Linked DNA regions of Homo sapiens: regions 2, 3, 4, 5, 6 and 7 are each linked to region 1. The links are contacts of gene promoters, found by promoter capture Hi-C in blood cells and fetal thymus (Javierre and others, 2016). All regions are on one chromosome and are shown on one strand. Each heading gives the region's core, a stretch centred on a gene start or on the middle of the fragment in contact. The rest is flanking DNA. Distances are from core to core; before and after follow the strand shown. Region 1 holds the start of STN1 (STN1 subunit of CST complex). Region 2 holds the start of CFAP58-DT (CFAP58 divergent transcript). Region 3 overlaps ITPRIP (inositol 1,4,5-trisphosphate receptor interacting protein). Region 4 overlaps ITPRIP (inositol 1,4,5-trisphosphate receptor interacting protein). Region 5 overlaps LOC124902497 (a long non-coding RNA gene). Region 6 holds the start of CFAP43 (cilia and flagella associated protein 43). Region 7 overlaps CFAP43 (cilia and flagella associated protein 43).

What was found. Contacts are between HindIII fragments. The CHiCAGO score rates a contact against its expected background, and 5 or more counts as called.
Region 2: a contact is called between the fragment with the promoter of CFAP58-DT here and the fragment with the promoter of STN1 in region 1, in 1 of 17 cell types (total B cells). The highest score is 5.0, in total B cells.
Region 3: a fragment that was not itself captured here is called in contact with the fragment with the promoter of STN1 in region 1 in 3 of 17 cell types (fetal thymus, activated CD4 T cells and naive CD8 T cells); the score reaches 6.1 in fetal thymus.
Region 4: a contact is called between a fragment that was not itself captured here and the fragment with the promoter of STN1 in region 1, in 1 of 17 cell types (total B cells). The highest score is 5.0, in total B cells.
Region 5: a contact is called between a fragment that was not itself captured here and the fragment with the promoter of STN1 in region 1, in 6 of 17 cell types (fetal thymus, erythroblasts, naive CD4 T cells and 3 more). The highest score is 10.8, in fetal thymus.
Region 6: a contact is called between the fragment with the promoter of CFAP43 here and the fragment with the promoter of STN1 in region 1, in 13 of 17 cell types (fetal thymus, naive CD8 T cells, naive CD4 T cells and 10 more). The highest score is 14.3, in fetal thymus.
Region 7: a fragment that was not itself captured here is called in contact with the fragment with the promoter of STN1 in region 1 in 7 of 17 cell types (activated CD4 T cells, naive CD4 T cells, M2 macrophages and 4 more); the score reaches 7.4 in activated CD4 T cells.

Annotation. Positions count from the first base shown.
Region 1 is chr10:103,916,651-103,919,605 of GRCh38, forward strand. It overlaps STN1 (STN1 subunit of CST complex), which reads right to left and starts at 1,534. Exons shown (of 10, transcript NM_024928.5): 1 at 1,450-1,534; 2 at 812-1,006. The coding sequence starts at 944. RefSeq lists enhancers at 996-1,325, 1,185-1,830, 1,461-1,755 and a silencer at 1,496-1,845. The HindIII fragment of the contact is 18,147 bases long and covers 1-2,955 here.
Region 2 is chr10:104,352,152-104,355,106 of GRCh38, forward strand. It overlaps CFAP58-DT (CFAP58 divergent transcript), which reads right to left and starts at 1,424. Exons shown (of 2, transcript NR_108036.1): 1 at 967-1,424. It overlaps CFAP58 (cilia and flagella associated protein 58), which reads left to right and starts at 1,682. Exons shown (of 18, transcript NM_001008723.2): 1 at 1,682-1,755. The coding sequence starts at 1,747. RefSeq lists enhancers at 1-74, 1,352-1,411. The HindIII fragment of the contact is 7,343 bases long and covers 1-2,133 here.
Region 3 is chr10:104,329,136-104,332,090 of GRCh38, forward strand. The region is part of intron 1 of ITPRIP (inositol 1,4,5-trisphosphate receptor interacting protein); the gene reads right to left. Among named protein-coding and RNA genes, the nearest start is that of ITPRIP-AS1, 7.2 kb to the left of the region's middle. RefSeq lists silencers at 242-291, 2,316-2,610 and enhancers at 1,064-1,709, 1,710-2,355. The HindIII fragment of the contact is 171 bases long and covers 1,424-1,594 here.
Region 4 is chr10:104,310,439-104,313,393 of GRCh38, forward strand. ITPRIP (inositol 1,4,5-trisphosphate receptor interacting protein) reads right to left here. Exons shown (of 2, transcript NM_001272013.2): 2 at 1-2,955. Among named protein-coding and RNA genes, the nearest start is that of ITPRIP-AS1, 11 kb to the right of the region's middle. The HindIII fragment of the contact is 212 bases long and covers 1,385-1,596 here.
Region 5 is chr10:104,247,661-104,250,615 of GRCh38, forward strand. It overlaps LOC124902497 (a long non-coding RNA gene), which reads right to left. Exons shown (of 2, transcript XR_007062284.1): 2 at 673-932. Among named protein-coding and RNA genes, the nearest start is that of GSTO1, 5.8 kb to the right of the region's middle. The HindIII fragment of the contact is 1,590 bases long and covers 670-2,259 here.
Region 6 is chr10:104,230,924-104,233,878 of GRCh38, forward strand. CFAP43 (cilia and flagella associated protein 43) reads right to left here and starts at 1,441. Exons shown (of 38, transcript NM_025145.7): 1 at 1,259-1,441. The coding sequence starts at 1,323. RefSeq lists an enhancer at 1,268-1,562. The HindIII fragment of the contact is 2,497 bases long and covers 1-1,624 here.
Region 7 is chr10:104,213,365-104,216,319 of GRCh38, forward strand. It overlaps CFAP43 (cilia and flagella associated protein 43), which reads right to left. Exons shown (of 38, transcript NM_025145.7): 4 at 895-1,062. Among named protein-coding and RNA genes, the nearest start is that of MIR609, 4.0 kb to the right of the region's middle. The HindIII fragment of the contact is 3,368 bases long and covers 1-2,955 here.

The DNA.
Region 1 (2,955 bases), core at 284-2,783:
AAACTTCTCAAATAGCACAGTAAACATGTGGCTATTTGTGAATTATTACACAGCTACGTGAATTATTTAAATCCACCCCAAACTATACTTGTTATATTTTTAGGTAAGATAAGCCTATCTCTAGTAGCCACTATTCTAATACAAAAAAAAAAAAAGAAAATTTAAACTTTACATGTATAATGCCTTGTTGCTTCAACTGCTATTTCTATTTGAGGGCCCACTATATGCCAGGCACTGTTCTAAGCCCTGGGATTACAAAGGTGAACAAGACAGATGATGTTCTTCCTCTCAGGGAGTTTATAATATTTTGATTCTGCTTAATTCAAAAGAAAACAAACCCCCTTTACATATCAGGAATCAAAAGATTCCATTACACAGGGTTAAGCTCCATTTTTACAAAGAAACCCAGACTTTGCAGAAGGTGAGTCACATGCCCGGACCAGGTAAGTGGCACATTTAGGAAAGGAGCCAGGCCTAGGAATATCTGGCCCAGCGATCTCTCCAACAGGAGCAGGGCCAAAGAAAAACAAATGAGCATTTTTAAGCATGAAAGACCCTAAATGGAGGTAAAAACCCCAGTACAAAAGTTACTCCCCCAAACACCTACTAAAAAAAAAAAAAAAAAAAAAAAGATTTAGACTGTTTTTTTTACCTTGCAAATAAATGAACTCATGCGAAGGTCCAGGCTAGGTCCCTTTCAAAGCCTGCAGCAGGGAAGGCTCTCCTAAAAGCCTCTAATCCCAGCTTTCTGAGACTTTGGGAAAGGGTGGCAGATGCAGCCCAGGGCATCCCAGGGTGGCTAGCCACATACCTGGCACCTGGCGGGACTCCTTCATGTCCAGGATATCCCTGATGTAGAGTTTTGCAAAGGCTAGAAACACAGGATCCAAACCCCACAAGAGGGAAGGGGTCTCCTCTTCACACCGGCTGGATCCAGGCTGCATCAAGAGGCAGGGCTGTGGCTTCCAGCTAACTCTGAAAGGTTCTGCATCACTGAGTCAAGCATCTAGATGGGACACAGAAATGAGGATGCAATGCGTTTAACGTGGGTCAAAGTGGCACGGCCCTGACGCTGCTCCCAGGTGGGCGTCCAGGACTCCAGGAGGGGTGAACGCAGGGATCCAGGGCCCTGTCAAACTCCATGCCACGGGGCGTGTTAAGAGGCGTTCCTCACGTCAGGACGCCTGCGTTCCTTACGGCTCTCCCGCTGTTCTCCTTCCCACAAAGCACCAACTTCGGAACGGCTAAACATCAACTTTCACTCTGGGAAGATACGTCTGTACAGGCGTAGCAGAAACCGCTTGGGGTCCCGGGAGGAACGGGCGCCCTCGCAGCCCTGCACGTGTTGGGGCATAGTGGATGGGTCTGACTGTCGCTCTGCCCTAAACTTTCCGCTTTTGGGGATGAGCCAAGAAAAGGAGGAAAAAAGATACTAAAAAATGGACCCACTTGTAGCCCCTCCCGCCGCCTGCAGCTCCAGGAGCCCTGAGACCTGGCCCTTCCGGCGCTCGGAGCCGCTGGCGGCGACGACCCCGCCCGGCGCAGGAGCAGTTGGCTGAGGTCGTCTCTGGAGTTCCGGCCTGAGCCCGCCCCCTGCCCCGCCAGGGACCAACCCCGGTCTCCCCGCCAGCGCATTTCCTTTCTGCTGCAGCGCCTCGCCACGGCTCCGCCCCATCTCTCCCGAAGTCCCGCCTCATCCCACCCAGACCCCACCCATCCCGCCGCGGCCACGCCCCATCCTGCCCGAAGCCCCGCCCCATCCCGCCCGAAGCCCCGCCCCATCCCGCCGCGGCCCAACCATCCGCTAGGCCCCATCCAGCCGAAGTCCAGCCCGTTCCGTGCCCCGCCTCAGCGCAGCGTACTTTTGGTTCAGGCAGCGCTGCAGCCCCGCCTTCGTGCTAGCCTCCACCGCTGAGGCCTAGGAGGCGACCTTGAAATTCCTGCAGTTCTAACGCCGCTCTTCTAGTCACCTTTCACCCCTCCTCCTGCTGGTGGCGGGACCCTGAACCTGGGCCTCCTAGAGGTTGGGTCAGGATCAGACTATTTTTCTTTTTGATTCCTGATATGTAAAACAGATAAAAAGTAAGCAGTGCCACGAGTGCATTGTGGCATATTTTAAATGTTCATTTACAGTTGGTAAGTGACCTGACTCACACACTTAGGACTCTAGTTTCACTTGGAGATGTCAATATCTAAATTTGAGCCCTCGAGTGAATGTGAGGTCTTGACTCTGCCAGAGACTAGCCGTGCAAAATCATGACAATACATTTTGTCTCCTTTACCCTTGTTCGGTCTACAGTCTGGAAGGTTGTACACTTAAGAACTTTGAAAAGCTGGCATTTTGGTAAATCATGGCCACCTTGATGGTGCTTAGTCTCCAGAATTTCTATTTTAAAGTGAGGAAAGATAGCCACGTTCCACTCCCATAAAGAGCTACGTTACCCGAGACGTCAGGAATTCTTCCTAATTTACAGAGACTCTGGAAAATGGCAGGGGAGTACAGATCACCCTGGCAGACCATTCCCGGGGGAGGCAGGTGGTGGCCAAAGAGATAATTGCTAAACTATTTATCAGAGAAGGAACTTGGAGCCGCTGGAATGGAAAGTGTGTGTGTCATTAGACCCATGGCATTTAATTACCTCCCCGGCCATTTAAGAAGCTCAAAAACAAGAGTCCTTGGTAAAATACATTGCCCAGATTCTACTGCAATGAACACTAGGAAATGTAGGGTTTAAGATTTAATTAAGAGAAGACACTGGCTGGGCGCGGTGGCTCACACCTGTAATCCCAACATTTTGTGAGGCCGAGGCGGGCAGATCACGAGGTCAGGAGTTCAAGACCAGGCAGGCCAATATACGGAAACCAACCCCCTCTCTACTAAAAATACAAAAATAGCCAAATGTGGTGGCGTGCGCCTGTAATCCCAGCTACTCGGGAGGCTGAGGCAGGAGAATC
Region 2 (2,955 bases), core at 174-2,673, 440 kb after region 1:
TTGCAAAGCACTTAGAATAGTATCTGGTATTTACTAAACACTTTATGAGTGTTTAATAAAAAAGACCTATCACCTTCTGGAAGGGATGGATGGAAGTGTTGGATGGAAACCCCACACTGGAGTGCAGCGTAGGGCAGTAACTCTGGTACACAATCTTAAAGTGCTTGGTAAGTACCCAGGGCTTGTACTAGGCTACTGGGCATCGTTGTGCTCTTGGAAAACTGTTCATCTGGCCAGATGAGTTTGAAAATATCACACCCTCTAGATAGTTACAGCCTTCTAGGTTCATGACTTGGCTGGCGTACAGAGATTTTGTGAGAATAAAAAGTGCACACCTTTCTCCAGTAGGGCACATGGCACGGGAAAGAGAGTAGAGACAGTTTTTCAGCCTCCATTGCCCCATGGCTGGATGTGTTTGTGCAGGACGCAGCTGCATAAGCAAATGTCCCTGTGCATCCCTATAACTTTAACAATCTTACTCCTTGGCATATATTTCAGAGGAATTTGCACAGAGGTCCTTAAGGGACCACGGACAAAGACGATCATGGCTGTATTACTTGATGTATTGGAGAATTAGAGGCGGCCTTGTTACCTAACACCTGGGGAATGGAAGTGAAGTGTGGTAGATGCCCCTTATGAAACGCTGTGCAGTACTCAGAAGCAATGAACTATATGCTTGCCAATCGCAACGAGGACAGATCCTTAAAAAGAATGTTGAGTGAAAAAAGTAGAAAATAAGATAATCTCCAAAGTCCAGTAGCATTATTTAAACATTTTTAAAAAATACACTGATAAAAATTTTGTACATTTCCCAAAAATACATATGGAAGCACAGCAGCATGAATGCCTATGGGGTTGAGGATAGGGGTTGGGAGTAGGGATGGGGATAAAGGGGGAAAATAAAACCAGAGAGGAGTCTTACACATTTCATGAACCAAGGAGTATAATTATTTCAACTATTTGTACCTGAAGTCCAGAAAGAGTGGAGGCAGAAGGGGGAGAAGAGGGCGAAGAAACGTTTTTGGGAGAGGGGTCCCAGAAGAGAGATTTTCGCGATGTGGCGCTACATACGTTTTTCCAGGATGCCTTAAGCTCTGCACCCTATTTTTCTCATCACTAATATTAGATTAAACCCTTTGAAGACAGCGTCTGTGGTTTCTCTACTTCAGCTTTCCCTCCGTGTCTTGCACACAGTAGCTGTTTTACAAGGGTTGAACTGACTGAAGTGAGATTATTCCTCGTTGTCTCGGAAGGCAGAGTGTAGCCGCCAGTCCTTCCCTCATCCGGAACCTTCTGGTCCACATTTCCTTCCAAGCGTTAGTCCTCGGCTCTCCATGCTTGGCTCCCTAGTGTCACACACCGTCCTTTCTGGGTGGCCTCTTCCAATTCGCCCTCTTCTTTCTCCTGGGTGTCTCCATCTGCCCACACCGTGGGACTCCTCCCAGCCTCTCAGGGGCACCGCCCCCTCACTTCCTTGGCTCCGCCCCATTGGGATATATTTGCATATTTCTCTGAGGAACCCTGCCCAGGTGCCAGCCGCAGAAGCTCCTCCCCTTTCGAATTCCCGCTAGCGCCCCTAGAGGGCGTGTCCGTTGCCAGGCGACGGGCCGACGCGCCGAGCGCGGGTTTCCGCTCGGGGCGGGCGATAGAGACAGCGCGTCGCGCCTTTAGCTTCTTTCCCAGACTCCGGCCCAGCTCCTGCGATCTCCACAGCAGCCTCTGAGGCCGCCCCCAGAGAGCATCAGGATGGCTGAGGTCAGGAGTCAGCGCCCCTCTGTCGCCTTTCCCTTGACCCCTCCCCATTGTCCCTCTCCTACTGACGATTGTCACAAACGGTGATTCCAATATTTCCCCCCATCAACATCTTATTCCCCTGCACCCTCACTCACTCCCGCGCCTTTCTCCGTTGGCTCTGGCCTCTTTACCTCCTGTTTCTCCTTCATTTGTGTGGACACCCCACTATCCCCACTGTGGCATCGGCGCTATGCTAAGTGCGGTAGAAAATTAATGAATTCTGAAATCCACACGTGACATGCACCCAGCCCTAGATTTTTAGTCATGGAGTGATACCATAAGAGAGGCTCACACAGAAATATTGGAGATGTCTTATCTCACAGGGGAAACCGGGAAGAAAGCTTCACAGATGCCTGCTGTCATCCCAATCAATGGCCCTTGTCCACCTGTCACACCCTGATTTCCTAACATGTGATCACCTGCTGTCACACAGCTTCATTAAGGCTCTTCTGCCCATCACCTCTGCCCCGTGTGTTCATTGACTCCTGTGTTAACATCTCGTATCACCCCACCACTCCCCCATATTACAGTACACCCCATTTTCAGCCTCTCCAATGAGGGGTTATTTCTGCAACCCTTCAGTGACTCCCTGCCTGCCCCTTAGCCCCCTCACGTATAACCTCAAGAGCCTCGGGTCCCTGTCATTACTTGCCATTCACAGTCCCCATCCACTATGGCCCTACCCAAATCCTTCATGGCCCCATCAGAGCCCTTCCCCCATCACCCATCCCACGGTCTGTTCCAGCCAGGACCAGCTACATGATTTGCAAGGCCTGATGCAAAGTGAAAACACAAAGTCTCTTCAAAAATTACAAATAATTTTAAGACAGAACAGCAGAGCATTCAACCAAGAATGGGGCCTTTCTGAGCAAGGGGCCCTGTGCAACTGACCAGTTTTCACTCCCATGAAGCCAGCCCAAGCCCCATCATCTTTCAGCACCATCGTGCTCCACCCCCTCCCCACCCCATTCTAGTTACTCTCTTGCTTCCTCTGCACCATTCACATCCCCTCATCATTGCTTTTCCTCCATCTCCAGTCTAGCTTTATAAATTCCGTCTTCCCGTGGTCAACACCTCCTTCCTTTCCTTATCATACGATCTCTTTCATATCATCCATCTTCCTCACGCCTGGGCTCCATCACTCACATCTCTCTCTGACAT
Region 3 (2,955 bases), core at 259-2,758, 410 kb after region 1:
GGAACAGTAACAGACACAAAGACAAAGGGGAGGCCAGCCCAGCTGTAAAAAAAATTAAGAGCGTCTTTGCTTGTGCTCTGCTGCAAGGATCTGGGCTGAACAATAGAGCCGGGCCTCTGCCAGCCCTCCCACACCAGTTAGTCAGAGCAAACCAGTCCTCCTCCTCTCTGGAGAGCAGAGGGCCCACATGGTAAGGCTAGGAACAGTTAGCAAAATTGCTCCCAGAAGTACCTATGACTACTCAGAGTCACACTCTCTACGGATTGCACAAAACAACCCTACTATGACATCATTTTCTAGTCACAGGGACGGAGCAATAAGGTGTGATGCGGGTGCTCCACCGAGGCTGTGCTGGCACCCAGTAGGTGTCCAAATAATGCCTGCTGAATGCATGGACCCATGACTCATATGTGCGTCAGTCAGACTGAGGTGGGCAGCAAGCAGCCACTGATAGTGTCAAGTTCACACAGGCTCATTTCCACTCCTACTGTCACCGAGAAAGAAACAGCCCAAAGCTCATCAGCTAAGAAGAGCTTAACAGTTTGCAGAGGCTTAGAGAACCATTGCTAAGGAGTCAAACTCTGGAATCAGAAGGCCTGGGTTTGAATCTTGGCTCTACAACTTGCTATGGCAATAGTGTCCAATTTATGGCCTTGTGGACCATCTCACAGTCACTCGGCAGTGCTTGGTAAATGATACTGCTGTTGGCACTGGTACTGGTGCTGCGGTCATGTCTCCTTTTTGATTTGTTAAATCGTCATGGTTGCATGTTAAGGAGTCCTCTGGGAAGAAGTGGGTGAACAACATCCCTGCAGCTCCTCCAGAAGCCTGGGGAGTATGACTAAGTTGTCTCCTCCACCTCCTTGTCTTCTTCTAAAGGCCCCAGGGGCTGACACAGAGGAAGAGGAGGAAGTTTGGAGACCTAGGAAGGTCAGCAGCACCCTCCCTTACTCCCTCCAATCTGGCATCATTGACACTGACAGCTCTTCCATTAGGTTCTGAGTACCCAGCTTTGGAAGAGGGTAGTTGCTATAATGAATGCTTGCTGAATACATGAATGGAGTTAGGATTGGGAAAAGAACCTCACTGCCTTTACTCCCAGGAGCAGGAATTTGAAATTCCTGGAGTGAAGTGGAAAGCTCTGGATAAAGTAACTTCTACATTCTTTCTTCCTGGGAGGGGCACTGCAGTCAGAAAAACAAAGTGCTAACAGTGTAAGTGCCTTGGAAAATCCCTTCCAGCAAAATCCCTTCCAGACGTAGCCCTGGAGACAGAGACGGTTGCAGCCCCGTTTGGTCTGGACTGGCCTTCATGTAACTGCAGGCAGACTCACTGCCAACGTTTAGAAAATGGCCCAGGAATGAACCCTGACACGTTTTCTGACCCTCAGCTGCCTTGCCGTGGACACCTCCCTTCTTGCTCAAGCTTCTTGTAGAAATAAACAGAGGATTACAGAGTAAGAGAAGGAGCAGAGAAGTAATTCTTCTTTCAGGAAAAAACTGGACAAGCCTCAGGGCCCTGACACACCATGGGAGGGTTTAATGAATTACAACCACTGCATCCCATTTATTGAGGCTTAAGCATTGCACAATAAAGCTTTACATGTATCATTCTCACATCAAACCTCTGAGGCAGGCACTTATCTCCATTTTACAGATAAGGCAACTGAGGCACAGAGGTGAGGCCACTCACCAACATCATAGAGCCAGGATCTGAATCCAAACCTATCTGACTTTCAAGCCTATACTCTTCCCATGAAGCCACGAGCTGTGCTGCTCAGTGACCTGGTATCTGTGAAACATTAGACATGTACCTATGGACTTTCCTCACCCGGACTGTTTAGGGAAGGGTAGGTGACAATCTAGATGAAATGTGGGCATGAAGCAGGGAGTAAAACCTAATGAACTTATGAGACTCCTTCTACCAAGATTCTGTGAGTGTGGCCTGGGCTATTTGAGATAAAAGGAATGGAAAGCCTTCTCTGCAAAAAAGGGAGTGAGGGCTCTCTTGACACTGGCAGGTAGGCATGTGTTGGGGTGAAATGTCAGGAAGCGGCATGGGTACATTAGGGACATTTTGGGGCAGCACACAGGGGTAGGACCCAGGCAGCCCCTGCTCTCCTACCCTCCAGCCCAGGCATGCTGCACCCCTGCCTCCTTGGGAACTTTGGAACAAAGTCTCAGCAAACAAAGGACGCGTTCGTAAACTTCAGGCGGGTCCCCCGGCTGCTGCTAAGAGGCTATTGAAGCCGGCTCCCATGAGAACAGTATGTTATGAGCACATGGTTTTGCACTAGCGGGCAGGGCCAAAATAATGACAACACCTTCCCTGCTGCTTTGATACAGGAGGAGGGGGCGAGAGTTGGGGGGACTCCTGCATCAGCTTCAGGGAAATGACCTAGAAGGGAGAGAAAGCAGTAGCAGCCCAGGGTTGCTTCCAAGCTGAGCCCCTCTTCCCAGGCAGTGAGTGTCCCACTGTGTTATGCACCTGGAAGTGAGTCATTTGATAATTGCGGGGCTTTGTATTTTTCCTAGGGACTTCCAGCAGAGGACTGCAAAGTGCTCTGAATATTATCAGGAACTGGTTGTTACTGTGCCTATTAAACAGAAAAGCAAACAGTGCTGGAAGGGAAAGCCTTTCCTTCCTTTCACCCTCAGATAGCTCAGGCCACACTCACAGAATCTCTTGGCAGAAGGAGTCTCCAAAGCTCACTAGGTCTGCTAATATCAGAGTGAGACAGCAGGAAGGGACCAGAAGTCTCAGGCCTGGAGTTGGTGGTCTGCTTGCTGTTTTCTCAGTATTGACACTTAAAACTTTGTGGGATTCTTTATGCCATCTGTATGTGTTCTGGGCTACAGTGTCCAGACAGACGCCTGAGGTGGCAGAAAGAGTCCAAGGCCCTGGGAGAGAGCAAATCTAAATTCGAATCTCTTCTCTGTTGTTGTCCGTTTGGGG
Region 4 (2,955 bases), core at 241-2,740, 390 kb after region 1:
ATGGTTCAGCCCCACTCTTATCTTTTCAACCTCATTTGCTACGACTTCTCAGTATATGCCAACATGTACACCAGGACTGCCTGGGTTGGAATCTGGGCTGTGCTACTTACCACTGTGACAGTAGGTAAGTCAGTTGCCCCTTCAGTGCCTGTTTCCTTATCTGGAAAGCAGGGAGGATAAGAATAGCACCTACATCATAGGACTGACATGGAACTGTGTGCATTAACAAATGTGTGTGCGGAACGGTGCCTGCCATACAGTAGGTGCTTCCCACCCTCACTCCATGCTTCTGGCTGGAATGTCTTTCCTGGCCACAGTCCTGGTCATTTTTCAGAGTCTCTATCTGGCAGCGCCCCACCATGAGGCCTTCCCTAATCAGCCCAGGTACCAGTGGTTCTTGGACATCCAGAATCAGGTGGGGAACTTGGTGAAGTGCAGATTCTTCTACCTAACTTCTCAGGATCCCACTGGAGTCTGTGACACGGCCCAGGAAGCTGCCCCCAGGTGACACCCGTATGTGTAGTGCAGGGTCACACTTGGAATAGCTCAGTACTTGGAAGGCCACCTTCTGCTGCCTCTCCTAGGGAACAGGCTTGGTCCTATTCATTTTCCCATCTTCCACAATGTCTCATGCACGTTAGGCTCCTGACAAATGCTTGTGGACTATTCATGACCTGCTTGGGAGAAGGGCTCACCATCTTATGCCTTCCCACCCTCTCTCTGAGGCTTACGGCACTAGCGTGAATGTGGGTGCCCTCATGAGAAGCTTGTGGTGTAGCTGATGCCACTTAGACCACAGATTCCAAGCAGGCTCATTGGCTTTTCCCAGGTCTATCTATCTTCCAATAGATCTGTAGGGAAAGTAGTCCACTTGGGTTTTCTTTAACTTTCCATTAAGAAAGAAAGTGAGAGGGCTTCCTCAGCTAGGGGTACCATCAGTCACTTGGGGGAAATCTTTAAAAATCGAGCCTAGCCTGACCACTCCAGACTGGATTCTGAGCACCATGTAGGTTCAAGGCGGGGTCGGGGCAATGGACCAGGTTGTCTGGGTGATTCGGATGACACCCTTGATGATGAACCAGAGCTCCACCCCCAGGTTCTCAACGGGGGCTGTGCTTCAGCCAGGCATGCAGAGGGGCTAGAGCTTTTGAGGATATAAGGCCCTTCCCCAACATAACCAGCCTCTTGGCCTAGGGGCCAACTCTATTCATTTCACCCTTGTTATTTTGCAAAGCAAGTGAGCAGTTGCTGGGGAAAGTCAAGCATCCTTGGGAAAGAGACTCTGGGGAAAGAGGGCAGGGTTGTCCTTAGTGGAAAGGCCAAAGTCCCCTAGAGGACTCAAAATCCTCTATTTAAAATACAATCTCTTTCTTTAAAACCCAAAAGCTTCCTGTTAGTTCCAGCTCCTATATTTCTCGCTGACATTAGCTCTGTGAAATAAGGTCTTAGGCTGGAATCCACCCTACAGCCAGCTTTCAAAGGCCCTTTCTGGAGCCCTGCGGGCAGCACACAAGTTGCCTCAAAGACAGGGTAGAAATGTTCTGTTTTGTTATTTTTTAAAGTCTCCTGAAAGTGTAAGAATAAAAAGGGAGTGAAAGCTTCTGCTTTGTCAATAGGAAATCCACCCCCCTGTCCCCAACTCTGCCCTGGGAGCCTCACAGATTTCCTGAAGTTAAAAACAAACAGTGACCATTTCTACTCCTTGCAAGATTTAATTCTTCCTTTAATATAAATAAGGCAGCATGAAACACCAAGAGCCCCACTGCTTTCTGCTTTAGAAGCAGCTTTGGTGCAGAAAAGATTCCCGTTTCCCCACCGAGTTCTGTTGTCTCTGTACACACAAGAAGCCAGAAGATATTTTTTTTTCAGTGAACTTTCTCCTGGAAGCAAAGGAGAAGCTATGGGAGATCCAGGCATGGTTTTGGCTTCTGGAGGCTGTTTTTTGGTTACTGGGGTCTCTTCAAAGCAAAACGGGATCAGGATGAAGAGGGGGAAAGGCATGGGCCATAAATAAATAAGGAAATTTGCCCCGATTCTACAAATGCATCTGATGGAATGAGGAGGGTCAGGCTGTGAGGGATTGGGGGTAGCTCCAGGCTGCTGTTAGGGACACACTTGAGCTGGTTCATTCCCTGGAGTGCCCCGCAACTGCGTCTAGGGAGAGGCAGGCCCAAGCACATGTTCAGTCTAATTCCAGCTCACACTGGAAGGCTTCCTATAGGTTTGGTTGCCCTGATCACAGCCGAGCTGCCCCACCAGGAATTAACCCTGGTGGGCAAAGGGTCCATCTTCTCAAGCTTTCTGAGGCTGGTTGAGAGCACTCCTGGGGATGGGGGAAGGATCTCCTTCCTTCAGTTTGTGGGGTAACTGGGCACCCCTGTCAAGTTGGTTATGCTCTCGGGAAGGCATGGCCGGCTTAAACCCTGGAGGAACACGGTATATTCTTGACTCCCTGGCCCCCTGCAAGGGTAACTGAAGTAACGGTGAGATAGGAAATCTCAAAGGGCCAGTGAAGCCACAGGTGGAAAAGAGCCTTCCTGATCCCCCTGAACCAGACCTGGAGACGGAGCCCAGCTCCAACCACAGAGCTTCTGCCAGGCTCTTTGGGTCTGGGTCATCTGTGTGGTCAGCAGTGCCCACACAGAAGGGGTGGGTTCTGTGCAGTGAGGGAGCCCCGCTGGAGTGAGGAACTAGGGGCTCAGAGCCTGCAGACTGGAGCTAGGTTTCCATAGTTCTTGCTTCCATGCACACCCTGCCCTAGGATTGGGACCCTGAGGACAACCTGGGGCTATGACATCCTTGGCCCCTGATCTCTGCAACTTTCTCTGAACTGGGCCAGACTGCAAGCCAGACACCACCACCCCGGGTAGCATTTTTGAGCACCTCATCGAAGGAGTCTACTGTCTTACAGCAGAGACTTCGCTGCAGGACGCAGGGCCAGAAGAGGTTGAGAGG
Region 5 (2,955 bases), core at 215-2,714, 330 kb after region 1:
AAAAAGGACTTTCATAGAAAATGTACGATACAGTTATGTGGTCTTGTTACATAGTTGCAAGTCATTTCCCCTTAGCTGTTGAGTCTGGGAAGAAAAGTGGTTTACAGGCACACTGAAACAATATGCCCTGTCTAGGCAGGATACATGGTAACAAGACTATGTTAGTTTTTTAAATTTTTTTTCTGAGTTCATAGAATACTATTGTGAGCTAATTCTCAGAAGGAAGGCTATAAATTTCCCTTAAATTGTTAATTAGCATTTATAACACACATTTGTGCTCTAGAGCAGTTCTGAGTTGGAACGTATTAGTGGTTGGTAAGATCTGCTTACTAAGTTGTAACCAACATGTCTTTAAAATGAACGGAACAAAAAAACTTCACAGTGCATCCCAATGGTAAGTGTAAATTCTGTTTTAGGGGTGTGTGTGTGTGTATGTATTTTTTATTGGACATTAAATAAAATACATTTTTTTCTTTAAAAATGTCAGTAAGTACTTTAGGGGGACTGTGAGGGAGACAAACTGTATTTAGTCAGCTCTAAGATCAACTGACAAGGAGGGAATAATTAAATAAATAACCAATTAAATTACAACAGAATCCTAAAATTTTTATTTAACGCTTATTGAAAGAGCTCTTTTAAGCCCAGATTTTTATGATAAAAGAACTCTTAAGCTTATTTAGAAATGATTTTTATTCTATTTTACTCTTGTGCAAGTATAAAAAGGAAAATATAAGTTATATAAAGTATTCATTCAACTTTTAGAATCCAGCTCTTTTGAATAATTTTTAAAATCAGCATCATAGGCATTCATTTCCCCAACTCATTCATCCCATAGCATTGTCCTCTGTGCCAAGAAGATCATTTAATTCCATAATGCAGCAAGAATGTTCTGTTATCTCTGGGATTTTCTTCCAAAGCCATTGACAGCTACCCTGCAAGTCCAAGCAAGAGCAATAACATCAGTGTCAAAACTGCTACACAGCCTGCTGTAATTTTAGATACACTTCCATTTTTAGAGGTATTTAAACATGAAGAAATGTGAATCTTAGAATCCATGAGATATGGTAGCAGTCTTAACTGCTACCTGATCTCTCGATCAGACTTAGGTGTCAGACTGATGGGTGAAGCCAGCTGGGCTTCTGGATCGGGTAGGGACTTGGAGTACTTTTCTGTCTAGCTAAATGGTTGTAAACACGCAAATCAGCACTCTGTGTCTAGCTAAAGGTTTGTAAACACACCAATGAGCACTCTGTAAAAATGCACCAATCAGCGCTCTGTGTCTAACTAAAGGTTTGTAAACGCACCAATCAGCACTCTGTTAAAAACGGACCAATCAGCACTCCGTAAAATGGACCAAACAGCACGACATGGGCGGGGCCAAATAAGGGAATAAAAGCTGGCCACCGGAGCCAGCAGGGGCAACAGGCTGGAGTCCCCTTCCGGGCTGTGGGAGCTTTGTTCTTTTGCTCTTCACAATAAATCTTACTGCTGCTCACTCTTTGGGTCTGCACTAGGTTTATGAGCTGTAACACTCACTGTGAGGGTCTGCAGCTTCATTCCTGAAGTCAGTGAGACCGTAAACCCCCGGGAGGAACAAACAACTCTGGACGCAGCACCTTTAAGAGCTATAAGACTCACTGCAAAGGTCTGCAGCTTCACTCCTGAAGTCAGCGAGACCATGAACCCACCAGAAGGAAGAAACTCCGGACACATCTGAACATCTGAAGGAACAAACTCTGGACACACGATCTTTAAGAACTGTAACACTCACTGCGAGGGTCCGCAGCTTCATTCTTGAAGTCAGCGAGACCAAGAACCCACCGGAAGGAATAAATTCCAGACACAAGACCAGAGTTGACAACCCATCTCCACCATAAAAAATATATTGATTTTGAGAAAATCACTTAACCTGTGCCCCCCAGTTTCCCTATCCCTGAGATGGTAATATTAACAGTATTTAAATCTTAGGATTGTTGTGAGGATTAAAGACTTTCCAGGTAGAACATTTAGGAGATAACTGGCAGGACATGTACATTCAACAGATGAGATTACCTCCTGCATGCTGTTTTACAACATTTTTATTTAACAGTGTATCTCTGGCATGTTTCTGCATCAGTATATATGAATCTACTTCATTACTTTTAACAGTTGTCTTTTAACAGTAGGTTTTTTTTTTCCTGTTCTTTAAAAAATGTTTCTTAAATCTTAATTTTTCCCAATATAGCGTATATTAAGAGTAAAAAATCAAAGTGAATAGAAAGCTTTTCAAATGACAGCAGTCGCCACCTCATTTCTCCCCACCTGATCCTTTCCCATCTCAATGCCATTCTCTAGAAGCCACCTTCCAACTGAAGAAACAGAAGGGAACCAATACCCTGGAAGCACCTCCCTACATCATGCACCCACCCTTTTCCATTCCCTTCCTTTCCCCTGGATGTAGCTACCATCCTGAATTCTGTGATTATTGTTCCCTGCTTTTCAATTCTACCATGTATGCATGAGCCATAACTAATGTGCTGTTTCACTTTGCCTGTTTTTAAAGTTAACACATGTAGAATCATACCATATATATTATTGTGACTTGCTATTCTGGCTCAATATCATGTTTTTGAGAGGGATTTAAGTTGATAACTATAGCTGTAGACTATTTGTTTTCATTGTTGGGTAGATGTCCATTATATGAATACAACACAATTTATCCATTCTTCTTTCAATGGACTTTTAATATCCCCTCAATTTTTTTTCTATTCAAGCTTCTTCTTTTTTTTTTTTTTTTTTGAGACAAAGTCTCACTCACTCTGTTGCCCAGGCTGGAGTGCAATGGCATGAACTCTTGATCTTTAACCAGCAGAATCCTCTCAGATTAGTCTCTTAGGTTATTAAGAAATGTAGTTGTAAAAACGCATGTATTGTTTCCTTTTAACTGTGGCTATGGGCAGCATGTCAACATAAAAG
Region 6 (2,955 bases), core at 191-2,690, 310 kb after region 1:
ATCTTTGAAACATTTCTATTTTCATGTCCTTTCTGCCCCCAATTTCTAAGATAAAAGAACACACATGCTGGCTGTGAGATCCATTTGAGTCAATGAATTATAGAAATTTAAATGTAGACCTAAAGTTCCGTAGGTCTCCCAGGCCTTCTTCAGATAACTTTTTCAGCAAAGGAAACTCTCTGACCAAACCTGAGAAAGTCTCAGAAGGACTTCTGGGGTCTTCTATACTTGGAAGACAAAAAGTGAAAATAACAGAGAAAAGAGCTTGATCTCAACACAGTGGCATCCTGGGCCATTCTTTTATAATTAGTTTGATTTTTTTAAATAAACTTTAAAAAACAACTTTGCATAGGACAGCCTGCTTTGTGGTTGTTAGCAGAGTAGGAAAATTGCTTATTTACACAGATGAAGAGTATGTGGCCATATTTTAGATTTAAAAATACAGATAAACGTAGAAAATAAAAGGAATGAAGTCGACGTGAATGAAAGGCTAGCACACAAAAAGAACATACTCTCAAGTAAGGAGTGCGTGCTAGGTGTATGCTAGAAAGGAGAGGAGATGAAGGAGATTCTATTTTTATTTAAATATTAAAGGTATGCTTGAAGATGGTGGAAAAGGCAAGTGAAGGACACTGGTTTGGTGAGAAACCTCGAGACATTAGAGTGTCCAGGACTAGCAGGGGATGCTGTATAGAGTGGAGGTGGGGGCTGGGAGGAACACTCTAGAATGTAGGGGAAAAAATGCCACCTATATCTGCGCAGTGCTTGATGCTTTTCAAAGGCTACTATAAATGCAAATAAATCCAAAGCTAGTGGATAGGAGTTAGAAGGAAAGGATTCAGGGACCTAACTTTGGGGAAAATCACCAAAGGTAGCAAGGACGGGATCCGGGCTGTCGCCAGGTGGAGGGGGAGGGGGATGTGATCAGAAGACCCGGATCACTAGCGGGAATCCTGAGCTAGAAGGAAGAGATGAAGGGTGCAGGGGACGTTGCTGGGTAAGAGACGGAGGGTCAGGGTCGCAGAATAAGGAGTGGGAAAGACAACTGGGGACGGGGTCAAGGAACAAGGGGATGGGGAGCGGACAGGGGAGGTCACACGGGGAGGGAGGCTGAGGGAAGGCACTGGGGGCAGAGGGGAAGAGGTCGAAGCTGCGGGGAAAGCCGCCCTAAGGAACCGGAGGGAGAGGAGGGAGGAGGGGACTTGGGGCAGGAGGTTCCGCGAGACCCAGATCGGTCGCGGGGCCGTGAACACCGCACCTCACGGACAAGGACGCGCCGCCGGCGGAGTGGGGGCCTTCGTCGCGCTCCCGGCCTTGCGCCATGGGCAGTGTTTTCCTCAGGCGGGAGCAGGCAGCGCACGCAGCACCCCAGGGCGGGTCGGTTACCTTTCCGCCGCCGCGGGGCTGCGGGCCGCGACGCCGCTGCTGTGTACACCCGTATCCCGGAGACCGTAAGCCCCGCGCCCATTGGCTCTGCGCTTTGGCCCGCTCCCTTCTGAGCCGAGCAGATTGGTGGAAGGTCTGCCGCTCTCGGCCAATGGGTGAGCGGCAAGCCAAGCGAGGGGCGGGCCCCTTGCTGTTCAAAGTGTGGTCTGTTTACCAGCAACATTGGTGCTACCTGGGAAGCTTGTTATAAATGCAGAAACTTGGCTCCCACACCAGATCTACTCAATCAGAATCTGCATTTTAACAAATTTCCCCAGGTCCGGGCCAATAATTGCAAGTAAGACTCATGCCTACAATCTCCGCGCTTTCGAAGGTCAGAGCGGGAGGATCGCTTGAGGCTAGGAGTTGAAGACCAGCCTGGAAGACATAGCGAAACCTGCCGCGCCCGTGCCGCATCTCTACAAAAAAATTTAAAAAGCAGCCGGGCATGGTGGTGCACGCCTGTAGTCCCAGCTACTTGGGAGACTGAAGTGGGAGGATCGCTTGAGCCCAGGAGTTCAAGGCTGCGGTGAGCTGGGATGACGCCACAGCACTCCAGCCTGGGCGACAGAGCGAGACCTGTCTCTAAATAAATAATTATTTTTAAAAATCAATAAATTTCTAAACAGACTTTCATTTAGAGTGCTGACTGTGCCAAACATTGTTGCAACGTCTTCACATCTCCCATCAGCCCCATTTTACAGATAAGTAACGTGAGGAAAAGAGAAGCACATAATTTGTCCATGGCTACAAAGTTGAGTGGGACTTTATTTATTTATATTATTTATTTATTTATTTTTGAGATAGGGTCTCACTCCGTTGCCCAGGCTGGAGGGCAGTGGCTTGATCTTGGCTCACTGCAACCTCCATCTCCTGGGTTCAAGCGATTCTCCTGCCTCAGCCTCCCAAGTAGCTGAGATTACAGGCACGTGCTACCATGCCCAGCTAATTTTTTGTATTTTTAGTAGAGACGGGTTTTCACCATGATGACCAGGCTGGTTTCAAATTCTTGACCTCAAGTGATTCGCCCGCCTTGGCCTCCCAGAGTGCTGCGATTACAGGCGTGAGCCACCTTGCCCAGCCCTGAGTGGGACTTAAACGCAGGTCTAGCTAATTTAGAGCTCCAAGCCCTTAAGTACCATATAACACTTTGAAATGTACCCTCTTGCTTCCTCAGGGAAGCAGACAGCTCTGGAAGTAACCTGATTGAATGGTCGGCAGCTTGTCATTCCTTCTTCTCTCCCATACCTTCCCTTAGACTCCCTCCCTTACCCTTCTTCCTTTCCCTTCAGTCGTCTTCCCTTCTCTACCCTTCCCTTCCTTTCTTTAGGTCTTTCCTTCCTGTCTTGCTTTCTTCTCTCCATTTCTTTCACAAATATTTACAGAGCATCCCGCATGCATTCATGCATGTGCTAGTCACTTGGAAAAAATAGAAAAACAAATAAAGTTTCTTCCTTCTTGGAACTTAGAGACTGGTGGGATCCAGGGAGTTGGGCTAGATATCCACATGGTCTCAGATGGTCTGTGTAA
Region 7 (2,955 bases), core at 293-2,792, 300 kb after region 1:
GCTCAGTAGCACCTTGAGTCTCCGAGCTCTTTCTCAACAAAAGCACCCATTATCACCACGGCATTTGTCACAGAATTTCTCTTTGACCCAGTTCTATTTAAACAGGTAACTCCCATGGCTCCACTATACACAACTACCCTTTTGCTTGCGGATAATGTGTCTGAATGTATAATCTGCATATTTTTTTTTTTAGATGGAATCTTGCTCTGTCCCTAGGCTGGAGTGTAGTGGCACGATCTCGGCTCACTGCAACCTCCACCTCTTGGGTTCAAGTGATTCTCCTGTCTCAGCCTCCCGAGTAGCTGGGACTACAAGCATGCGCCACCATGCCCGGCTAATTTTTTGTATTTTTAGTAGAGACGGGGTTTCGCCGTGTTAGCCAGGATGGTCTCGATCTCCTGACCTCGTGATCCGCCTGCCTCGGCCTCCCAGATTGCTGGGACTACAGGCGTGAGCCACTGCACTCGGCCAATCTGCATACTTTCTATATCTAACCATTTCTTATTTTTGAAATTCCAGTAGGGCATCTGAGTAATAGCAAAAGTCTTAACTCTCCTTTTTATACAACAGGCATGTTTTAAAATAGTAAGGACAAATAAAATTTTAGAAAATTAGATCATGTTGGAAAAAGCTCTCAGAGAACTTAATATTTTAAATAAATTAATTGGGAAACAAGTCATAGAGAATTCTTTTGAAATGCAAACAACCACTCCAAGGTAATCACGCATGTAGAAAGATGTTATAACAAGATAAGCTGAACGTATGTGTGTGTATGTGTGTGTATGCATATATATGTATGTATAAAGCCACTTAATTCATCAAATTGACCCAATCACATTACACGAATGCAAACAAAGACCACCATGTTGCTACTGTTGTAACAAAGGCTCCTACCTTGCTCTGAAACAATGCTCCTGGTTACTTCTTTCAATGGTCCACACGCTCACTGTACTTGGACTTGATAAGCACAGCTGGCGCCAGTTCATGGGGTTAAAAGACATTTGGTTCACATCCATTCCAGGCTGTGATTTCTTACACAAAATGATACTCGATTCCCAGTTCCTTAGAGAAAAATAGCATTTGATGAAAAAAAGTTCATTTGAATTTCATGTATTTAGAACATTTATCTATTTTTTAATTTACATAAATTGGGATATAATTTATGATACAATTTATATAATCAATGACCTTAATGTCAAATTTATAAATAATTATGCTTATCATTGTATTGTATCCTAAGAAAGCAAAAAAACTATGTTTTAAAAACACTATACTGTCATATGCTATACCAAGGCTATTTTATCTTCTTTAATAATTTTGCAATTTAACTCAGCCAAACCTAGAAAATGAAATATATCATCACATTTGCTACAAAACAAGTGTAAGTGCCTGAATCTGTAAGTACTACATGTGAGTACTCCATATGGATCTGGGGGTACTGTTCTCATCGATGCCAATTGATCATTTATTGAGTTTTTAAAATTAAAGTGGTGCCAGGCGCGGTGGCTCACGCCTGTAATCCCAGCACTTTGGGAGGCCAAAGCGGGTGGATCACGAGGTCAGGAGTTCAAGACCAGCCTGGCCAATATGGTGAAACCTGTCTCTACTAAAAATACAAAAATTAGCTGGGTATGGTGGCACACGCCTGTAATCCCAGCTACTTGGGAGGCTGAGGCAGGAGCATCGCTTGAACCTGGGAGGCGGAGGTTGCAGTGAGCCAAGATTGTGCCACTGCACTCCAGCCTGGGCAACAGAGCAAGACTCCATCTCAAAAATAAATAAATAAATAAATAAATAAATAAATAAATAAATAAAGTGGTGTATTTTAAAATGGATTTATTCATTTACCCATTTAAGAGAATATCCTGAACTCCTACCATGAACAAAGTCCCTTGCTAGATGAAGGAAAAGAAAAAAATTAAATGTGAGCTATGCCCTCAAATGAGGGGCCAGAACTCCATTCAGAGTTGTGATTAGGAAACTGGAGCTAATATTGATTGAGCTTAGCTTGCCTTTCACTCCCTCCTGCCCTCATCCTTCATTCCCTATCACAAATGCCCTGCCCAACACATCAACCACACTCTTGCTGGAATCTCTGGTTCCCTTGATCCTTTGACTTTTTGCATCAGGTACCTGGCAAAGACCGTCATCCCTGGATGGAGACAACTGAAAGCCTGGGCTGCTAGAGACATGGGAACAAAGACTACAGGACTGTGCATGGCAGTGACACCATAAACTTGTGGTTGCCACCCCCCACCAGACCCTCAATAGGATCTCCAATCCTGCTATGTTTCTCTGGCCAGTTCTCTCTCTCTCATTCTCTAAAATGGGCATTTAAAATATTCTCCCCTCTCCCGAAACCTCTAGCCCCTCTACTCCCTTCTCAATCTCAGTAAATGGCTTTGATTCCCATGAATAAAATAGAGGCCATCAGCTGAGAATTCTTGCTCTCAAGTATAACTACCCATTTGGGTCTGCATGGTTCTCTCCGCCTCCTCTCCCCTTACAATGGAAGGTGTGTCCTTCCTCCTACCTAAGGCCAATTCCACCACCTGTGCTCTGGGTCCCACAGTCTTGCCTTCTTAGGGACATTGGTTTACTCAGGATAACTGCATCTTCCAACTCTCCCTCTAGCCTGACTTCTTCCTGCCAACACACAAGTGCTCATCCATACCATCCTCAAAAGAAGCCTTCCCTCAGTCTTACCTTTCTATGTCTCTCCCCTCTCCTCAGAGTCAAACTTTTTGAGCAAGTTGTTCTAAAGTCACCGCCATGGCTTCCTCAGCTACACTTTCCTCATCCCAGGATACCTGCATCCTGTCACCACCATTCCATTGACATAGCTATATCCACAGATACCTGCCTTCATCCTAAATCCAAAAGGCACTTCTCAGTCATTGCCTAACTTTACCTCTGCAGAACTGGGCACTGTTCACCACAACCACCTTCTGGAAT